Linked DNA regions of Homo sapiens: regions 2, 3 and 4 are each linked to region 1. Evidence: promoter capture Hi-C in 16 types of primary human blood cells and fetal thymus (Javierre and others, 2016). All regions are on one chromosome and are shown on one strand. Each heading gives the region's core, a stretch centred on a gene start or on the middle of the fragment in contact. The rest is flanking DNA. Distances are from core to core; before and after follow the strand shown.

Region 1 (4,652 bases), core at 1,017-3,516:
CAGCATTGATTGGAAAAGGCAAGGACGAACTGACAACTAAGTTCATGCCCTTTCCAGGGTATCATGTCACCTTTCAAAATTGAGGACCCTAGAATCTTCCAGTTGATCACTCTCTCCATGTGCCCCAGCCTCTTTCTGCCTGCAAACGCAGATCTAACTGGATCCCAGAGACGATCACTACCTCCCTTATTCTTCACCATCTCTATGGAAGGAACCCCTACCTCCTCCCTGGGGCAAGGTGCATGGGAAACTGAGTCTGCACCACCCATGGGGCAAGGCTGCCATGCTTGGACAGAGAGGCCAGGCATTCCAGACAACTCCCCCTGCCCCACCCCCACAAGGAGAGCCTGAGGGGTAGGGTGAGGAGGTGCTGGGGAGTTTCCAGTTTCAGGAGCTGTTTGCCCTAAGATGGAGAAAGACAGGTCACAGCGGTGCTCCAGTGCAGATTTGAACAATTTGTTGCAGCCACAGGAAACTTCCGAAATGTCTTTCCCAGCAGCTCTGCCTCCGCCAGGAGCAGGAGCATGTTTGTGTGGCTGCAGGGCACCGGGAGCAGCGCTCTGTGCTCTCCCGGCTCCCTGTGGCAACAGGAGCAAGAACTTCGGGGGGTCAGGCATAGAAACCACAGCAATGAGATCTGACTTCAAAAACACAGAGCCGCGATGTCCACTTCCAGAACACACAACATCTGGATGGATCACCAACAAGATTCCTGCGACCTGAGGTGGAGGCAGGGCAGGAGGCGTGCCTCGGGCCTTGTGGCTTGTGGGGAAAACCTGTCTCCCTCGCAGCCCCCCACCCCCCTCCTTCACTCACGCCTGCATTGTTGTGGGGCTCCCAAGTGAGTGTTCTCTAAGCACTCTAGTGGCCTCATTCCCAAACACTCCTCCCATCACTTTATCCCCAGCTCTAAAAATTGTTCTTGCTTCCTCTTAGCCTAGAGCAGTGCTTGAAGGAGGATAGAAATTTCCTGGGGGTCTTGTTAAAATGCAGGTTGTGATTCAGCAGGCCTGGGGTGAGCCCGGGCTTCTGCGTGTCTAACAAGCTTTCAAGTCCAAGGATGCTGTTGGTCCCAGGACCACACTTTGAATGGCAAAGGCCAGTACGTATGTCCCAGATTCCTAAGTCTGGTGTTCAAAACTCTGGGCCCCTCCCCCTAGACTACCTTTCTTACCTCCTTGATCTCTTCCCCACCCCTGCGATGCTCCGGGCAGAGTCACCTGCCAGCCCACAGGCACACCCACACCCCAGCTTGCCCACCGCGGGGGTTCTGTGCCCACCATTTCCCTCAGCAGGAAAGCTAGCACCCAGCTCTGCCGTTCAAATCTTACCTCCTTCAAGTCCTAGCCTTCCCATAAAGACCATTGTCTTCCTTACAGGAAGAGCTGCATTCCAGAGCCATGGCATACAAAGGGAACAATCTCTGCTTTCTCAGGAAGTGTCAAACCCAGACACTGTTTGGGAGAGACAGATCTGGGCCGCCTCCCTAGAGTGGTGGAGCAACCCCTGAAAGCTGCCTTGGCTGGGACCATGGCTCTCCGATGGGAAGGCCTGCTGCATGATGGCCCTTTCGGAAGGGCATTCACTAGAGTCTGGTATGCTTAACAATTTGGAAACCAGGGTCCGTCATGCAGTGAATACATGTGTCTGAGAAAATCTGGCTGATACAGATAGAATTTCATTTTCATGCTTCACCTTGGTAAGGCCAAATACCAGCTAATGAAAAGTGGATTATGAATTCTTTTTCTTTTTGAGATACAGTGTCACTATGTCGCCCAGGCTGGAGGTGCAGTGGTTCGATCTCATCTCACTGCAACCTCCACCTCCCGGGTTCAAGCGATTCTCATGCCTCAGCCTCCTGACCTAGCTGGGATTATTGGTGTGCATCACCACGCCAGGCTAATTTTTGTATTTTCAGTAGAGACGGGGTTTCGCCATGTTAGCCAGACTGGTCTTGAACACCTGGCCTCAAGTGATCTGCCCACCTCGGTCTCCCAAAGTGTGGGGATTACAGGTGTGAGCCATCGCACCTGGCCTGTACTTTCTATAAAAATATTTTATACCATCTGATATTTAACTGGAAAATGACTGCAGAACTCTTAGCCATCCTTTGTTTTAAATATTCAAAAGCACTTACCTGACACAGGCCCCTAAGAAAGGCTATCTGGGGCACTCTTTTAGTTTTTCTGTTTTATTCCTGATGGTGAAATTCCAGCCAAGATTTTCTGGTTGTGGAACCTCTTCTGATTCTGCCGTTTCACTGACTGGAAATGATTGCTAATTGGAATGAAAATTTTCATCTTATCTGCCCCTCTGTTATTTTGCAGAGGAGGGTGTGGTGTTATCAGTTTGCAGTGGGGTTTAGGGGTGGTGTCAGCCTTGCAGAAGGTTTGGTGGGTTTTCATTTCCCTGGCTTTGCTATCTGCTGTTTTGAGGGAAATGGGTAACCGGATCTTAGAATCCCTGGATGTGAAGAGATAACATTGACTATAGGCAATTCTATTTACTGATAAAAATAATATAGTTTTCAAACAGTCCCACAATGAGTCACTTCTAAATAGTCAGAAATACATTTCCTGCTATTATTCTTTGAGACTGAATTGATAATTTTATAAAATTACTCCCCTCACTAAGGTAGTCCTATTGAATGCATGCCGAATTTGCAACATGGTCTTAAATCTGCAGTACCCTGGTCTTTTGGGACCCACCAGATATGAATCAAAGTCCCGAGCATATTCTCTCATAAGAAATGTACTCTACTTGCTTCTTGCTGTTCACGTTACCAAGAAAAAGAAATGTATTCTACATCTAGCTCCCCTTCCTGAAAATAACAAAGAATAGCATCAGAGCAAGAGTCAGACAAAATCTACTGGCAAGAGTCCAGAATGTCAGGGCACTAGCTCTTCAGCCATCCCCCTCTTTGGCAAAAGGCAAACATCACAAATCACTGATAAGCCAAAGCCTCATCTAAGCACCGAGTGTGGCTGTGGGCTCTTGAAGCAAAAGTCAAGAGACCTGGATGCTATGTCCTGCTGCTTTGCCCCTCAACAGCTTGGTTACTTTGGGCAAGTCTTTTAATCAATGTGAGCCTCAGCTTCCTTATCTGGAAAATGGGGTTAACGACTGCCCCACTTACCTTGCAGGATGGCTGTGACAGTCAAGCCAGATTGTTCCTGGGCAAGCACCTTCTAAATTTACACAAAGAGGTGAGTGCCATGTGATTGGCAGGGAGTATCCGCTGCCGGTTCTGGGGCTCAACAAAGCAGTTCTGTCTTCTGCTGTGCTCCCAGCCTTCCCTCCCAACCTGGGTTACCTTTTAAAGATAGAAGAATTGGCTGGGAGCAGTGGCTCACGCCTGTAATCCCAGCACTTTGGGAGGCTGAGGCAGGCAGATCACGAGGTCCACAGATCGAGACCATCCTGGCCAACCTGGTGAAACCCCGTCTCTACTAAAAATACAAAAATTAGCTGGGCGTGGTGGCACACACCTGTAGTCCCAGCTATTCGGGAGGCTGAGGCAGGAGAATCTCTTGAACCCAGGAGACAGAGGTTGCAGTGAGCCAAGATCGCTCCACTGCACTCCAGGCTGGTGACAGAACAAGATTCTGTCTCCAAAAAAAGACAGAAGAATTATGGGGGATAGGGGTCGAAGTGGAAGAAGGAAAGCAACAGATATTTTAGAGGGATCAGAGCCCTGTCCATTTCACATGTGATTCTTTGAATCTGTCTCCTGCATGTCCTCACTGAGTCCCCAAACAAATTCCCCAATCCCATCTTGTCACCCAGCTCAGTAACAGAATTAGTTAATCCCAGTTAACCTAGATAACTTATCTTTTCCCCATTCCTAAAGAACAGAGGCCATCATTGTGTCTCCACAGGCTCTCTCAAGGGAGATTACCCTTCATCTTCTCCAAAAGGTGGAGAAGGAGACAGTCCTGATAGAAAAGGGAACCTTCAAAGGATTCTAGTGTCTCCCCGGGACTGGAAGGGAAGGGAGCTGTGATCCCAGGTGTGGAGGCTCTCCTTCTCTGGCAACCCTCGGGAGGTGACAGGGCCTCAGGGAGAAATCGTAGCAATGGCAAAGCTCTGCCAAGGAATGGTGGAGCCACCAGCCTCCCAGGAGCATGAGGACTTAGCAGATGAGCACATCAGTAGTCACCCCTGTGGACCGAAGACCAGAGGACTCTATCCAAACGATCTGGGCGAGTGGCCACAGGAACTGAGAGGAAGGGGCATTTCAGGAAAGTCTGCAACTGAATTTCCTACCATCCTGGCAGGATGGCTACAGTGGCATATCAAATTTAGCTTAAAGTAATAAAAGAAACATGAAATTTCTTATGCCCTATAGTTAATGTAGAATTCACATGCCTGCTATCTTTCTGATACATTCTGGCAGATAACCCTGCTTTCTTTGGATACTCCAGAATTTGGGAGAAACAGTTCGAAAGATCAGCACAAGCTCTTTCTGAAATTACCTTCTGCTCCCTCCCGCAATGAGAACTTATGCAGGGAAATAGCAGCCCAGCAGATATTTCCTCCATAGCCTGAAAACTGAGCCACAGATGCCCTACCCTCAGCTCACCCACAAGCACTTCTCGGCAAACCTGGAGGAGAAAATAATGTCTTATCTTTCTTATGTTCAAAAAGGAACA
Region 2 (4,652 bases), core at 1,492-3,991, 490 kb after region 1:
CAAGGTGGGAGAATTGCTTGAGCCAAGTTCAAGGCCATCCTGGGAAACACAGCAAGACCTCATCTCTACAAAATAAAAAAATTAGCCAGGCATGGTGGCGCCTGCCTGTTGTCCCAGCTACTCAGGAAGCTAAGGTGCGAGGATCAGTTGAGCCCAGGACGTCAAAACTACAGTGAGCCATGATCATGGCACTGCACTCCACTATGGGTGACATAGCAAGATCCTGTCTCAAAAAAAAAAAAAAAGAACAATGAAGAATGATTAGCCCTCCTACACAGCAAAACATACTGTACATTAATATTTTTATATGGTATGGCATTCATTATAGATAAACTACAGACAAATAAGTCAAAGGAAATAAATAGTCTAAAAACAAATTAATGACTATGGGAATTTAGCATATGAGAAAAGAATATTCATAAAAGGTGCCTGGACAACTGGATAAATGTTTGGGGGGAAAACTGGAGCCCTACTGTAAACCAAATCTTTAAAAAATACTTTTTTAAGACAGGGTCTTGCTCTGTCACCCAGACTGGAGTACGGTGGCACAATCACTGCAGCCTCAAACTCCTGGACTCATGGGATCCTCCTACCTCAGCCTCTGAAGCAGCTGAGACTACAGGTGTGCAGCACCACCATGCCTGGCTAATTTTTTATATTTTTTTAGAGATGGGGTCTACATTGCTCAGGCTGGTCTTGAATTCCTGGCCTCAAGCAATCCACCTGCCTCAGACAACCAAAGCACTGGGATTATAGATGTGGGCCACCATGCCTAGTCCATATCTAAAAATAAATTTAAGAAAAGACATTAAATATTTTAGAATGTTAGTATAGGAAAGGTCTTAATGAGAATACAAAGATCAGAAGCCATAACAAAAGATTAAAATATTTGATATCATAAAAAATTAAAACATCTGTATGATTAGGCAAAGTTGGGGCATGGTGGCACGTGCCTGTAATCCCAGCTACTTGGGAGACTGAGGCAGGAGAATCGCTTGAACCAGGGAATCAGAGGTTGCAGTGAGCCGAGATTGCACCACTGCACTCCAGCCTGGTGACAGAGCAAGACTCTGTCTCAAAAAAAAAAAGTTAAAAAGATAACCCACCACTCATAGGCTGTGTGTTCATGGGCAGATTGCTTAATCTTGCAAATCTTAAATTTTCTCATGCCTAAAAGGAGAATGATCACCTATTTTACAGGGTTGTTTTAAGGATTAAATGAGAAAGTTTAGTTTAAATCCTTAGCGTAGTCGTAGGTAGTAGCACCAAGTAAGTCCCCAATATATTTTTTATTATTATTATAAATTATGCAAATATAAGAAGATGTCACTTTTGCCTGATGAAGATTAGGAACTTTTAAAAACTTTCAAAAAATGATACTACCTGGTATTGGCACAGATATTACACACAGCTAATGAAAACATAAATTAAGCCCATCTCTGTGACATAAGACAATTTAAAGTATGCGTCAAAAGCTTTTTGTCCCAATTATCCAGTCCTGGGATTTGATTCTAAAGAAATATCAGAAATGAACACTCATGGAGATTCAAATACTGGTAATTTATAACCACAGTATTTTTTAAGCAAAATATTAGAAACAATTCCACTAATAGGGGTATACCACAGAATTCTTTACGACCATTTAGATTTATATTGCAATAGAATAATTATTGACTTGGGGAAATGCTCACAATATTTTTAAGTGAGAAAAGGACTTTAAATTAATAAATACAATATGAATCCACTTTTACTGCATATAAATTCACAGTAAAAAGGCTAAAAAAAATCCTAAAATACTCATTTGGTTAAAGCTCTCAGTGGCAAAAATAGAAAATACTTTTTCCCTCTTAATGCAAACTTCATATGAAGTTTTCTACAATGAGCATGTTACTTAAGTTAAAATAAAAACAAGGGTCGGTCATGTTGTCTCACACCTGTAATCTCAGCACTTTTGGAGGCTGAAGCGGGCAGATAACCTGAGGTTGGGAGTTCGAGACCAGCCTGACCAACATGGAGAAACCCTGTCTCTACTAAAAAAAATACAAAAATTAGCCAGGCGTGGTGGCCCATGCCTATAATCCCAGCTACTCAGGAGGCTGAGGCAGGAGAATTGCTTGAAACTAGGAGGTGGAGGTTGCAGTGAGCTAAGATCGCGCCATTGCACTCCAGCCTGGACAGCAAGAGCGAAACTCCGTCTCAAAAAAAAAAAGACCTTTGAGGAATCACACTCCCCACTATTCCTGAAGTTCAGGCCCCACCAATGACTGACTCTGCCATGGGACATGATGATCAAAGTTTGGGCACACATTTTTTAAAATCACATGTTCAAACATGTATATTGAACCTTGGCAAGAAGGCAAATGTGTTAGAAGACTTTTAGCAAAAATGGTGACCTAAATATTGGCGGATTTATATCCCTCTTTCCAAAAGCACTTAGATAATAAGCAGTCAGTCTGAAAAGACTATTGTTATTTAATGGAGCAAACAATGTCCACTGTATATGAAATGGCTCTCTATTCTTGAGGATGAGGGAGGAGAGGAAGAGAAGAGAGGACAGAAAGAGCAGGCTTTCACCTCATCAGAAAGCAGTTGACACAATTTCTATCCACTGAAATTTGTCATCTGAACCATCAAAAAACCAGACTTCTACTGATCTTGATTGTCACAAGAGTAAAAGTTTGAATAAGCATCCATTACTGAGAAGCATACCTAGAGCTGATAACTCCTGAATCTTTATCAATTTATTTTCATAGAGTGAAAAGTCAGTGAAAATCTTCCATTAGCCAAATGGGCTTTCAGTGAGAAGGTTAATTTAAATGGTTGTTGAAGAAGGTACTAGATGAATGTGGTAATCCTGAAGTGAGGAACCTCTTCCTCTGAGCTTATTTGATCAAGCTCTCTGCAAACTTTCTAGAATATTTAGCCAACTGCCTCTATTTTCCACCACAAGATCAACACATACCACTACTCTTAAGTGAAATTAAATGTAAATGCTAAAATGTATGTCACAGACAGATCAAGAGGATACACACCCATGGGCTTTACTGTAAAGGCATATACTAAGGCAGAGTGAGCCACTGCAAAAACACACTGTCCATAATTGAAATTTTAGAAGCAATCTCAATGACTAAATAATGAAATATCCAAATATAGAATTGTACATAGCTCAAAGAAGAACAAAAGTCTGTGTGTTTGGACATGAAAAGATGTCCGTGTAACTGAAATGAGGAAGTTACAAGCTAATATACAGAGTGACCTCATTTATGTAAAACAACATAAAACAGAACCAAATATGTTTATAAACGCATTGAACATTGTATCCAACTGCAAGGTTGCTCACTATTTTATTTACCTTGGCACAAGAGTGAGATTTCATCTGCAGAAGGGAAATGAAAAGGAACTTTTCAGTTTTGGTTTAATAAAAATGTATTCATTTTATATTTTTAATATATAAAGAATTACAAATAAGTTCAATGATTTATAAATATAAAAACTATTGAAAGCATTAGATATACATCAACAGATGACTGATTAAATTAATTATAATGTGTATGCATGTGTAAAACACAAATTGTACGTCATTAAAAATGATGAGGTAAAAGGGTACAAAGTTTCAATTAGACTGGAGGAGTAAGTTTTAATGATCTATTGTACTGCGCAGTGACCACAGTTAATAATAATGTAATGTATATTTCAAAATTGCTAAAAGAACAGATTTTTAATGTTCTCACCACACAAAAAAAATAAGTTGATAAGGTGAAGGATATGTTAATTAGCTTCATTTAATCTTTCTACAATGTATACATAGATCAAAATATTACATTGTACCCCATTAATATATAAAATTGTCAATTAAAATACATTAAAAACAATAACAATCCTACTAGCACATATTATAATGTGTTGTATAAATATTTATAAATTATGTATTTTTTAAATGATGAGGTAGATTTATATATATTGCCATAGAAAGACAGGCATAGTATATTGTAAGGGGAAAAGCTTATAATGGACAGTATAACCCATTTTGTTTAAAGTATGTATGTGTATATAAATAAATATATAAAATTCTGAATTAGCAATCACAATTAGTCATAAAATTTAACAACATCCACAGTCGTAATTGTTTTGTATTCATTTAACTGTATTCTCTAATTTTTTTTTCTTTTTTTTTTTTTTTGAGATGGAGTATCACTCTGTCACCCAGGCTGGAGTAAAATGGTACAATCTCGGCTCACTGCAGCCTCTGCCTCCTGGGTTCAAGCAATTCTCCTGCCTCAGCCTCCTGAGTAGCTGGGATTGCAGGTATGTGCCATCACACCCAGCTAATTTTGTATTTTTAGTAGAGATGGGGTTTCTCCATGTTGGTCAGGATGGTCTTGAACTCCCAACCTCAGGTGATCACCTGCCTCAGCCCCCCAAAGTGCTGGGATTACAGGCATGAACCACCATGCCCGACCTTGTATTCTCTAATTTATAAACAATACAGTAGTGGTGTAATAAGGAAAAATACTTCTTAAAGTAGTTTCATTACTTTCATTTTCGTTACTCAAAAAGAGCTATATATCTAAAGTCAAGAATAAATAAATGCTAAGCCAGTTTCTTGTCAGACAAAGTGAAAAGTAAAAAGATTGTTTACATAATTTTAAAAA
Region 3 (4,652 bases), core at 1,175-3,674, 470 kb after region 1:
TTAAAATTTACTGAGATGATGGTAATGATGATGATTTCTATGATACAGTTTATCATAGAAAACTGATACAGTTTATCATAGAAAACTGATACATAGAAAACATAGATACATTAGTATCCCTAATCTGAGAAAGATCTAGTGGCTATAACCTTTCATGTCCTGCTAGTGTGATTAGTGTATCCTATAATGTATTACATAGGGAAAAATTATGTTAGAGGAAAATTAAGCTACTCATTAAGGGAATAAATAAAAGGCCAATCTTGTACCTTGTCATCTCTAGCTCATACACCATATACAGTAAGTACTATAGTAACTATTCTTTATTACCTTGAATATCAGTGACAATCTTAAATAGCATACTTAGATTTTAAAGAGTGCTCAAAAAGAAATCAAATTGCATAGAAATAGATGATACTCTTCTTGTATCTGACTAAGGACAATCATACAGCTAAGCAACTTTTAAAAAGAAAACATATCACCAAAAGAGGCTAAAAAAAAAGAAAAAAAGAGAGAGAACAAACTGAGTTTTGGAGTGCTTATTACTGCATTATACTCTAACCCACCTCAACTGATACAATAGATTTATCAACCTTAAATAGCCTGAAAGATGTTCTAGGATAAGTATTGTCTGTGAATGAATGTTCACTAAACATACATCTGAACCATTCAGGAATCTCTTTTAGAGAGATAAAAATTGTTTATATTAATGCTGTTTGAAAAGTATTCTCTCAATACTCAGATTCTTTTATAACGTATGGTAGGCTTTACAGTTACTGTTTTAAGCTTTGTTTTTGTTGTTTTGGTTTTTTTTGTTTGTTTTTTTTGTTTGTTTTTATTTGAGACAGAGTCTCACTCTGTTGCCACGCTGGAGTGCAGTGGCACGATCTCAGCTCACTGCAACCTCCACCTCCTGGGTTCAAGTGATTCTCCCACCTCAGCCTCCCAAGTAGCTGGGACTACAGGCACCACCACGCCCAGCTAATTTTTGTACTTTTAGTAGAGACAGGGTTTCAACCATGTTGGCCAGGATGGTCTCGATCTCTTGACCTCATGATCCGCCCACCTTGGCCTTCCAAAGTGCTGGGACTACAGGCGTGAGCCACCACGCCCAGCCTAAGCTTTGTTTTTTTAATGTTATCCTTATCCACTATGCTATTAAAAGTTTCCAAAAAAGATGTGAGTTTATATGCATGTTGTATGTATATGCATGCTGTACACATGTATTCACAGAGACACAATCAGACAAAAAGAATCTCATCTAGCTATCTGGCAAACCTACCTGTCTGCAATCAGCAAAAATGAGTAAGTATAAAAATGCCTCTAAGTAGTTAAAATAAATGCTGCAAGGTCTTTGTAATAAAAATCATGCAAATTTTCAAAGGTAGGATTCCCAGGTCCCACTAAGGGCATCAATTCTTATTTTAATTATGGTTCTAAGAATTGTCGTTTTTATAAACAAGTTACTGATATTCCTGTAGCTTCAGCCTTCTCATTTGTAAAATGAGTATATTTGTATAAGAGCTCCAAGGTTATCAGCTAATCTTCAGCAAAGGCGCCAAGAATACACAATGGTGAAAGAACAGTCTCTTCAATAAGTGGTGCTGGGAAAACTGGATATCCACATGCAAAAAAAAAAAAAAAAGATCCTTATCTTACACTATACAACCAAAATCCACTCAAAGTAGATTAAAGATTTAAACCAAAGATCTGAAGCTGTAAAACTTCCAGAAGGTAAACATATGGTAAAAAGCTTCATGGCATTGGTATTGGCAATGATTTTTTGGATAGGACACAAAAAGCACAAGCAACAAAACAAAAAATAGAGGGGAGGACTACATCAAACTAAAAATTTTCTGCACAGCAAAGAAAACAATCAACAAAAAAACACATAATGGGAGAAAATATTTGCAAATCATATATCTGATAAGCAATTAGTCTCTAAAAGATATAAGAAGCTCACACAACTCAATAACAAAAAACAAATAAACCAATTCAAAAATGGGCAAAGGACTAAAATAGACATTTTTCCAAATAAGACATACAAATCGCCAACAGGTATATGAAAAGGTGCTCAACATTGCTAATTATCAGGGAAATGTAAATCAAAACCACAATGAGATATCACCTCACATGTTAGAAAAAAAGAAAGAAATCCTACCATTTACAACAACATGGATGAACCTAGAGAACATCATGCTAAATGAAATAAGCCAGACAACAAAAGACAAACACTACATGATCTCACTCATACGTGTAATATTTTTTAAAAGTCAAATTCATAGAAACAGAGAGTAGCAGGGTGCTTACCAGGGGTCAGGGATGGGGAAAGCAAGGAAATATTGGTCAAATGATATACACTTGCAGTTATAATATGAGTAAGTTCTGGAGACCTAATGCACAGCACAGTGATTACAGTGAATAATAATGGACACTTGAAATTTGCTAAGAGAATAGATCTTTGTTCTCATCACAAAAAAGAAGATAATTATGAGAAGTGATCCATACTAATATTAATTAGCTTGATTCTGGTAATCATTACACAATGTATATGTATATCAGAACATCACATTGTACACACCTTGAAGATATATAATTTTTATTTATCAATCATATCTCAATAATGCTGAAAAAGAGTTCCAAAGTTAGAGGAAAGATGTCAAAGTCCCTAACATGGTATAGCACACATAAGACACAGAATAAATTATAGCATTATTAAGAGGGTTATTATTACCTGCTTCCCTAGCCCAGAAAAAAAGAAAGTGGTAAATTAGAAAGGGGGTGAAGACACTGTCAGCTGTGAGAAATGACAGCTAATGCCCTAACAAAAATAAAAGAGAACATCTATAAAACACATATCAAATAATCCAAAAAAGAACATCTGTCTGGGCTCAGTTAGCATAGGAGCAATTATGAGCCCTATATATCTCAAAAAGAGAAATATCATTGTTAAGTGGATTTAATATAGTTTGGTATAGCTCTTTTTTTGCAAAAAAGAACTTTTGGCAGAGATGCTAACTGCTGCCCCCAACAGCCATTCTTTCTTTAGTAGTAGAATCATGAATTATCACTAGACACATGGCCATCCAAAATAAAGCTTCCACTTACAGTCCTCTATTTACAGACGCATCATATTATTATGTTCTTCTCAACAAGATAGGAGCAGAGGTTATACATACAACTTGCAGACATGCCCTTACATGGACCAACTATACACTTCCCTCCCCTCTTTGTAGCATCATGGTAAGGCTGGAGCAGTTGTCTTGGCCTCAGAGATGAAAGTCACGTATTGTGGACAGCAGAGCCTCTCTATCAGCCCTAGACTCCTTTATCTCCAGATGGTTAAACACGACAGAAATAAACATCTTTTTGTTTTGTTCTGAGATGGAGTCTCGCTCCCTCGCCCAGGCTGGAGTGCAGTGGCACGATCTTGGCTCACTGCAACCTCCTCCTCCCGGGTTCAAGCAATTCTCCTGCCTCAGCCTCCCGAGTAATTGAGATTACAAGCTCGCCACCACCCCTGGCTGATTTTTGTATTTTTAGTAAAGATGAGGTTTCACCATGTTGGCCAGGCTGGTCATGAACTTCTGACCTCAGGTGATCCGCTCACCTCAGCCTCCCAAAGTCCTGGAATTACAGGGATTAAGCCACTGCGCCCGGCCAAACATCTTTCTTATTTAAGCCATCATTAAGTCTAGTCTTTGTTAAAGCAACCAAACCCAGATCTTAAATAACACAGAACCTAATCTGAGCCTAAAGATCCATCCAGCATTGCTGTCTCTTAAAATTTAGTTTCACTTAACTGAACCCTGGTACCAAAAATAACAGGTATAGGAAAGATATTGGGACAATTGGGGGAATTTGAATATGACTGCATGTTAGATAACATTAAGGAATTATTGCTAATTTTCTTAAGTGATCATGGCGTTGTGAAATGTAAGAGAATATTCTCATTGGGAGATGTGTGCTGACGTATTTATGGTAAAGTGGTGCAAGATGTGTAACTCACTTTCAAATGGTTCATCAAAAAAAGTGTATAAATACATATATATTTACAACTTGATGTGGTAGAAATATGGGTTTTCATTTTACTTTTTCTATATACTTTTTCACAACAAAAATATAAAAAAATTAAGTCTAAATATATACATTTTGTATGTAAATACAAATGTCGATATATTTTCTATTAAGATATGAAATATTTATGCAATGACCTTGACCTGCGGTGGAAGATATTATGGTAACCAAAATAATACTCTTGATATCTGTGTTATTGAAGACTGTAAGCTCAGAACATGTGTACTTGCAAGCAGAAGTACCAATAAAATTTGTGTTCATTTCAATATGTGGTATCATCGAACCACAAATCTTCAGTCTCCCAAAGACCTCAAAGAAGTGGTCTTCAAAATGTGGCCCCCAGACCAGCACCATTTGCATCACCTAGGAACTTCTCAGAAATGCCAATTCTAAGATACCAATCTAGGCCTACCATATGAGAAACTCTGGTCACAGAGCCCAGAAATGCTAGGTTTTAACAAGCCTAGAGACTACTACGGTGCATGCTAAAGTTTCAGAACCACTACCTTAGCATGATAGGATGAAAAAGTAAGGCCTGAAGAAAGCTTGAGCCCCAGAGAAAACCTGGCCTGTTAGCA
Region 4 (4,652 bases), core at 819-3,318, 300 kb after region 1:
ACATAGGGTTGGGAAGGGAGGAGAACTTCTCCATTTATGTAGAATGGTAGATAACAAAATGGCACAGGAATCAAAATAACCCAATACTCTTCTATGTGTTTACTGTAGATTAGAATGTCCTTAGATAAGTGGTTTTCCTCCTCACTGCTCAGTTTCTTGTCTGTAAAATAGAATGTGATCACTTCCCCTTTATTTCATACTTTAGGGGAAGAAGAGGTCAATAAACATTTTTAAAATATTAATTTATATCCAAAAAATCATAAACTTTTTAAATTTTTTTACCATAACATGATGGTGAGTATCTACTTGCACATCTGTTACTCTGAGTGATCAAATCTCTTAAGTTATAACAGGAACTTCAGTTACTCCATATTCTAGATCCTTCTTAAATAGCAGCTAAACAAGGAAGTACATTTCCATTTCCATTAAAAAAAATCTTATAATTATACGGCCATCAGTATAAAAGAAGAAACCCCCAAATAAGAAATTTCATTACACTATGGTCTGCATATTAAAATTTCCTACAAAATTCTGTTAAACCCTCTGCTTAAAGTCTTATTACATGTGCTTTTTTTAGATATTTTTAAATACCTGTTTCTGGTAACAGGAACTTTTTTAAAAGTTCATTTTGAGATATTCTCTTACTAGTGTAGTTCTCACACATTACAAGAGAGAAGGCTGCCAGGCATTTTCCTGGACCCTGCCTCAGAATCACCAGGGAACCTTTTAAAAAAAACATCTCTTCTCGTTTGAAATTTGGTGAGTCTAAGGGTGGAGCTCAGGAATCTGTATTTTTTAATGTTCCCCTCCAGACTGAACCCAAAGCAAATTTCAGAACTACTAAAGTGTCAAATGTATACATTTCAAGCAGCATCTAGCTGGCAGCAGAAAACTGTTCTTTGGAAAAGGAAGAGTTCTCTCCTTTTATAAGAATAGAAAGTAATCTTCTCTCTATTCTCTGGAAATGATAAGCCAAGTTTTCCTATATTCTTCCATAATCACCTTGCTGGAACCACTTGTTCTTCAAGCATGAAATCAAAAAGATAGAATTTTTTTAAATATACAATACACATAGTGTATGTGTGTGTTTTTCCAGCTACAAGGTGATGAGAAAAGCAAAGTTCATCATTAGTTAATGTCAAGTTTGAGACAGACTGTATTGCTGGTGGCCGGAGCAAAAAAATGCCACTGAGTAGCTGAAAACTCAAAAAGTGTCCTTTAAACCAATCAAGAAATTAATTGAAAGTTTAGTAAAATTTACTGAACTTTCTTTTCATTTTATTTGCTTCACTTCAAAAAGGAATCAAAGTGGTCCTTTCACTTTCCCACCTGGGAAAAAGCTTTACTAGTCAGACTTGTAATTTTAACCAAATCATGGCTACCCCCTGGTGGCTGCTTACCCCAATTACAAGGTTTTTAGAGAGGTTTAAATTAACATACTGAAAGAAGACTTCAAGTTTTGTCTTTGAAGAAGGAACAGAAACTAAATTTGGTCTCGAAATGTCCTGGTATGCTCATTCTTGTAAAGTAATGATCCCAGGCCTTTAATTTATTTCCTGGGGCACCTATAATTTCTGAAGTTTACTGACTCTGAATTGTGTTGCTGAAACAATGCAAGATTTTTAAATACTTTTTTTTTTTTGCTTTCTACATTTATATATTCTTCACACATCATATGAAAGGCCCTCTTAATCCTAGACCCTGCTACCAGAAGCACAGTGTGCACACCCGTGGGCCCTGACTCAAAAACCTTTGTTTTTCTCATCCCCTTATAGCTAGAAACACACACACACACACACACCCCCAAGGTATACATTTTCATTTTAAAATTCTATCTTTTTGATTTTGTGCTTGAAGAACCAGTGGTTACAGCAAGGTGATACATGCCTCCCCTGCTGTATTCCCACAGGCTCCAGGCTGCTCCTGACCCCAGCAGCAGAGGCAGATGTTCTCTGCTATGGAATCGGGTCCGCACTTGTGCTTTTGTGGTCAATCTTATCACGTAGCCAGGCCTGTTAATGTCTCAGCCCCTCAGCAGGTAGCTTCTGTAGTATCTTTAACATGGCTACAGCTTCCAATTTGGCTGACTTTCTACCTCCTAAATCAGCAAAGTGTTCCGATCCCTGGCACTCATGATCACTGTCCTGGCCTGTTTGGAAAGCGGCATTCAGTTCTGATAGAAGGGTCATTGACCTAGTCACCCCAAGTTCTCTTCCAGCCAGTATTCCTTCAGGGACATTCATGTGCCAGACATAATTCAAACAGATGTGCTCATATATAAACTAAGGCCAGGCACGGATGGCTCATGCCTGTAATCCCAGCACTTTAGGAGGAAAAGGCGAGAGGATTGCTTGAGGCCAAGAGTTTGAGACCAGCCTGGGAAACACAGCAAGACCCTGTCTTTATTTTTAAAAAATAAAAATAAAAAATAAACTGAACATTCGCATTTATTAATTATACTTTTCTTTAAAAATCTGATAGCTCTGTTTCTCTGGTAATTAGCTGTCTTCTCATTGTTGAGAGCCAAATATAATCTTTTGTGCTTCTATTCTTAAATTATCACATTATAAACAGAAGACATAATTATTATAAAGTAGGAATTTAAAGCAGGACAATCAAAAGTAATTGAATTGTGGTAGCTAGAAAGCAGGAAAAGTTGGGCAACTATTTTACTACTTAGCCAATATTCTTAAAAACACCAACACAATTAAAGTATCATCACTATGTAATCACAAACCACTAAAAAATATCACTTTCTCTCTAAAAATGGGCTAGAAGTTAGAAAGAGAAGCTTCTTAAAGTAAATCACCAACAGTAAGAAAAATCAGCTAATTCTGCTATGGTAAATATTTATTCTTTGTGGTACACATCAAATATACAGTGGTCTGCATCAGAATAATATTTATTCACAAAGTAAAATGAATTACTTACATGTTACTGTGAAGTAATATGTCACACATTTTTTAAAAGACAGGAGCATACCATACAAACATAACTGAAACTAGCAACCAGAGTTAACTATATTTACGAAAAGCTATAGCAGCTATAACCGTACATACAATTTATATTTACAAGAAAAAGCACTTTCCAAACAGTATGTACCTTATGACCCAATTTAAAAATATTTCTATTTCTTATTTATATTTATACATAATCCAACACATTCATAAATCTGGAAGGCTATATACTAAATTTAAACTATGATTTTCTGGGTGGTGCAATTAGGGTATTGTTTATTTTTATTCCCTTCCCTTTTCTGTATTTTCTGACAAAGAATTCTGATATTTAGTACTTGTGTACTTTTTTAAAAAGTTATATTGAAAAGAAAAGCAAGTAAAATACACCATGCTAATTTTCAAGTGTTATCTGGAGGTACCAACCATGTCCTTTCTTTAAGAAAGATCAGTGTTACTTAGTAAATTAGAGAATGCTTTTCTTGTTTGAGGCCTTCTCAGAGGATGGGGAGCAGGAGTGCACATAGAACATTGTTCCAAGATCTCTACTGTTTGTTTCCATCATTTTTAAAATCTTAAATCCCTCTATATCTCAACATTCCAGACTGACTAAGAAAAGACAAGAGTATGTTTTGCAATAACTAGCTTTTGCTGCACTCTGCTGGAACATTCCCTAATGTTCTGTACAAAATGATCAATAAAGTATGCCTAGGTCTTTGCTACATCTGGTTAAAACGTTCTCATGGAGGTTTATACATTTCTATGAATAATTAAGAATATTTTCAACTAACAAAATGGATATAGTTTACAAACATACACACCAAGTATCATCATGCTCACATATTAATAAATGGCTACACATGCAATAGTTGATTATGATGTATGACAGGGAGTATTTTTAAATGGTGTATGTTTTGCACTCCCTCACGACTAGATCTTTTTTCTTCTAAACAAATTCAAAGTTCTATCTTCAATCATGTAAAAGTCGCTGTAAATTCCTTGGACGTACCTACTTGGACTCACAGTTTGTAGAATCATTTGTTTACAGTAAAAAAAAAAAAAATTAAAAATCCTCACCAAATTAAAGCAGGCAGTTCTACAGTTTAAATAGCCAAATGACTTAAACCTGCTTTATCTAATGATCAATCCTTCCATTTCTACTCCTTTACTGCCTCCTCCAAAACACACCTGCAGTCAACATTCTGCATGAAGTTCTTTCGCTGAAAAGCAAATCAATTTGTGTTGGCCCAAGATGCCACAAAACAGTGTCTAGAGAGGCCTCGATGATACGGATGCAATGGAAAAGAATAGTGGCCGGCTTGTTTCAACAATCTTCCAAGGGTAGTGAAGAAAAACTTTCACCTTAGCAATGTCTTGGGAGTTGCAAACACAGAGCCTGGCAAGAATCCCAGCATACACAAAATACTTCTCAATTTTTACTAATACCTGCTAAAATTATGTTTTGGCCTGTCTGCCTGGAAAGAAAAGTCTGGAATGACCGCTTCTTTTGACTTTATAATCTGCATAAATCTCTCAAAGAGGGTTCACAGGAAAAGTTTCCATGGAACATTTCTTTTCCAAGAAAAAAAAGCAGTGGGCTCCTCAGCATCATCTCTGTCTCTGTGGATTTCTCGGCTATGCTATCAAACAAGAGTAGGGAAATGCAGGAGTCCCGAGGCCACAGAACCAAAGCACCTG

Evidence for each region. The method cuts DNA at HindIII sites, captures the fragments that hold promoters and counts their contacts. A CHiCAGO score of 5 or more calls a contact.
Region 2: a contact is called between a fragment that was not itself captured here and the fragment with the promoter of FLJ20712 in region 1, in 1 of 17 cell types (M2 macrophages). The highest score is 5.9, in M2 macrophages.
Region 3: a fragment that was not itself captured here is called in contact with the fragment with the promoter of FLJ20712 in region 1 in 1 of 17 cell types (endothelial precursors); the score reaches 6.2 in endothelial precursors.
Region 4: a contact is called between a fragment that was not itself captured here and the fragment with the promoter of FLJ20712 in region 1, in 2 of 17 cell types (megakaryocytes and M1 macrophages). The highest score is 6.3, in megakaryocytes.

What each region holds. Positions count from the first base shown.
Region 1 is chr7:33,723,595-33,728,246 of GRCh38, reverse strand. FLJ20712 (a long non-coding RNA gene) reads right to left here and starts at 2,266. Exons shown (of 2, transcript NR_165282.1): 1 at 2,138-2,266; 2 at 1-719. The HindIII fragment of the contact is 5,749 bases long and covers 1,048-4,652 here.
Region 2 is chr7:33,235,854-33,240,505 of GRCh38, reverse strand. All of the region lies in intron 5 of BBS9 (Bardet-Biedl syndrome 9), which reads right to left. Among named protein-coding and RNA genes, the nearest start is that of BBS9, 110 kb to the right of the region's middle. The HindIII fragment of the contact is 2,527 bases long and covers 1,478-4,004 here.
Region 3 is chr7:33,252,338-33,256,989 of GRCh38, reverse strand. All of the region lies in intron 5 of BBS9 (Bardet-Biedl syndrome 9), which reads right to left. Among named protein-coding and RNA genes, the nearest start is that of BBS9, 130 kb to the right of the region's middle. The HindIII fragment of the contact is 1,344 bases long and covers 1,753-3,096 here.
Region 4 is chr7:33,420,545-33,425,196 of GRCh38, reverse strand. All of the region lies in intron 19 of BBS9 (Bardet-Biedl syndrome 9), which reads right to left. Among named protein-coding and RNA genes, the nearest start is that of BBS9, 290 kb to the right of the region's middle. The HindIII fragment of the contact is 1,451 bases long and covers 1,343-2,793 here.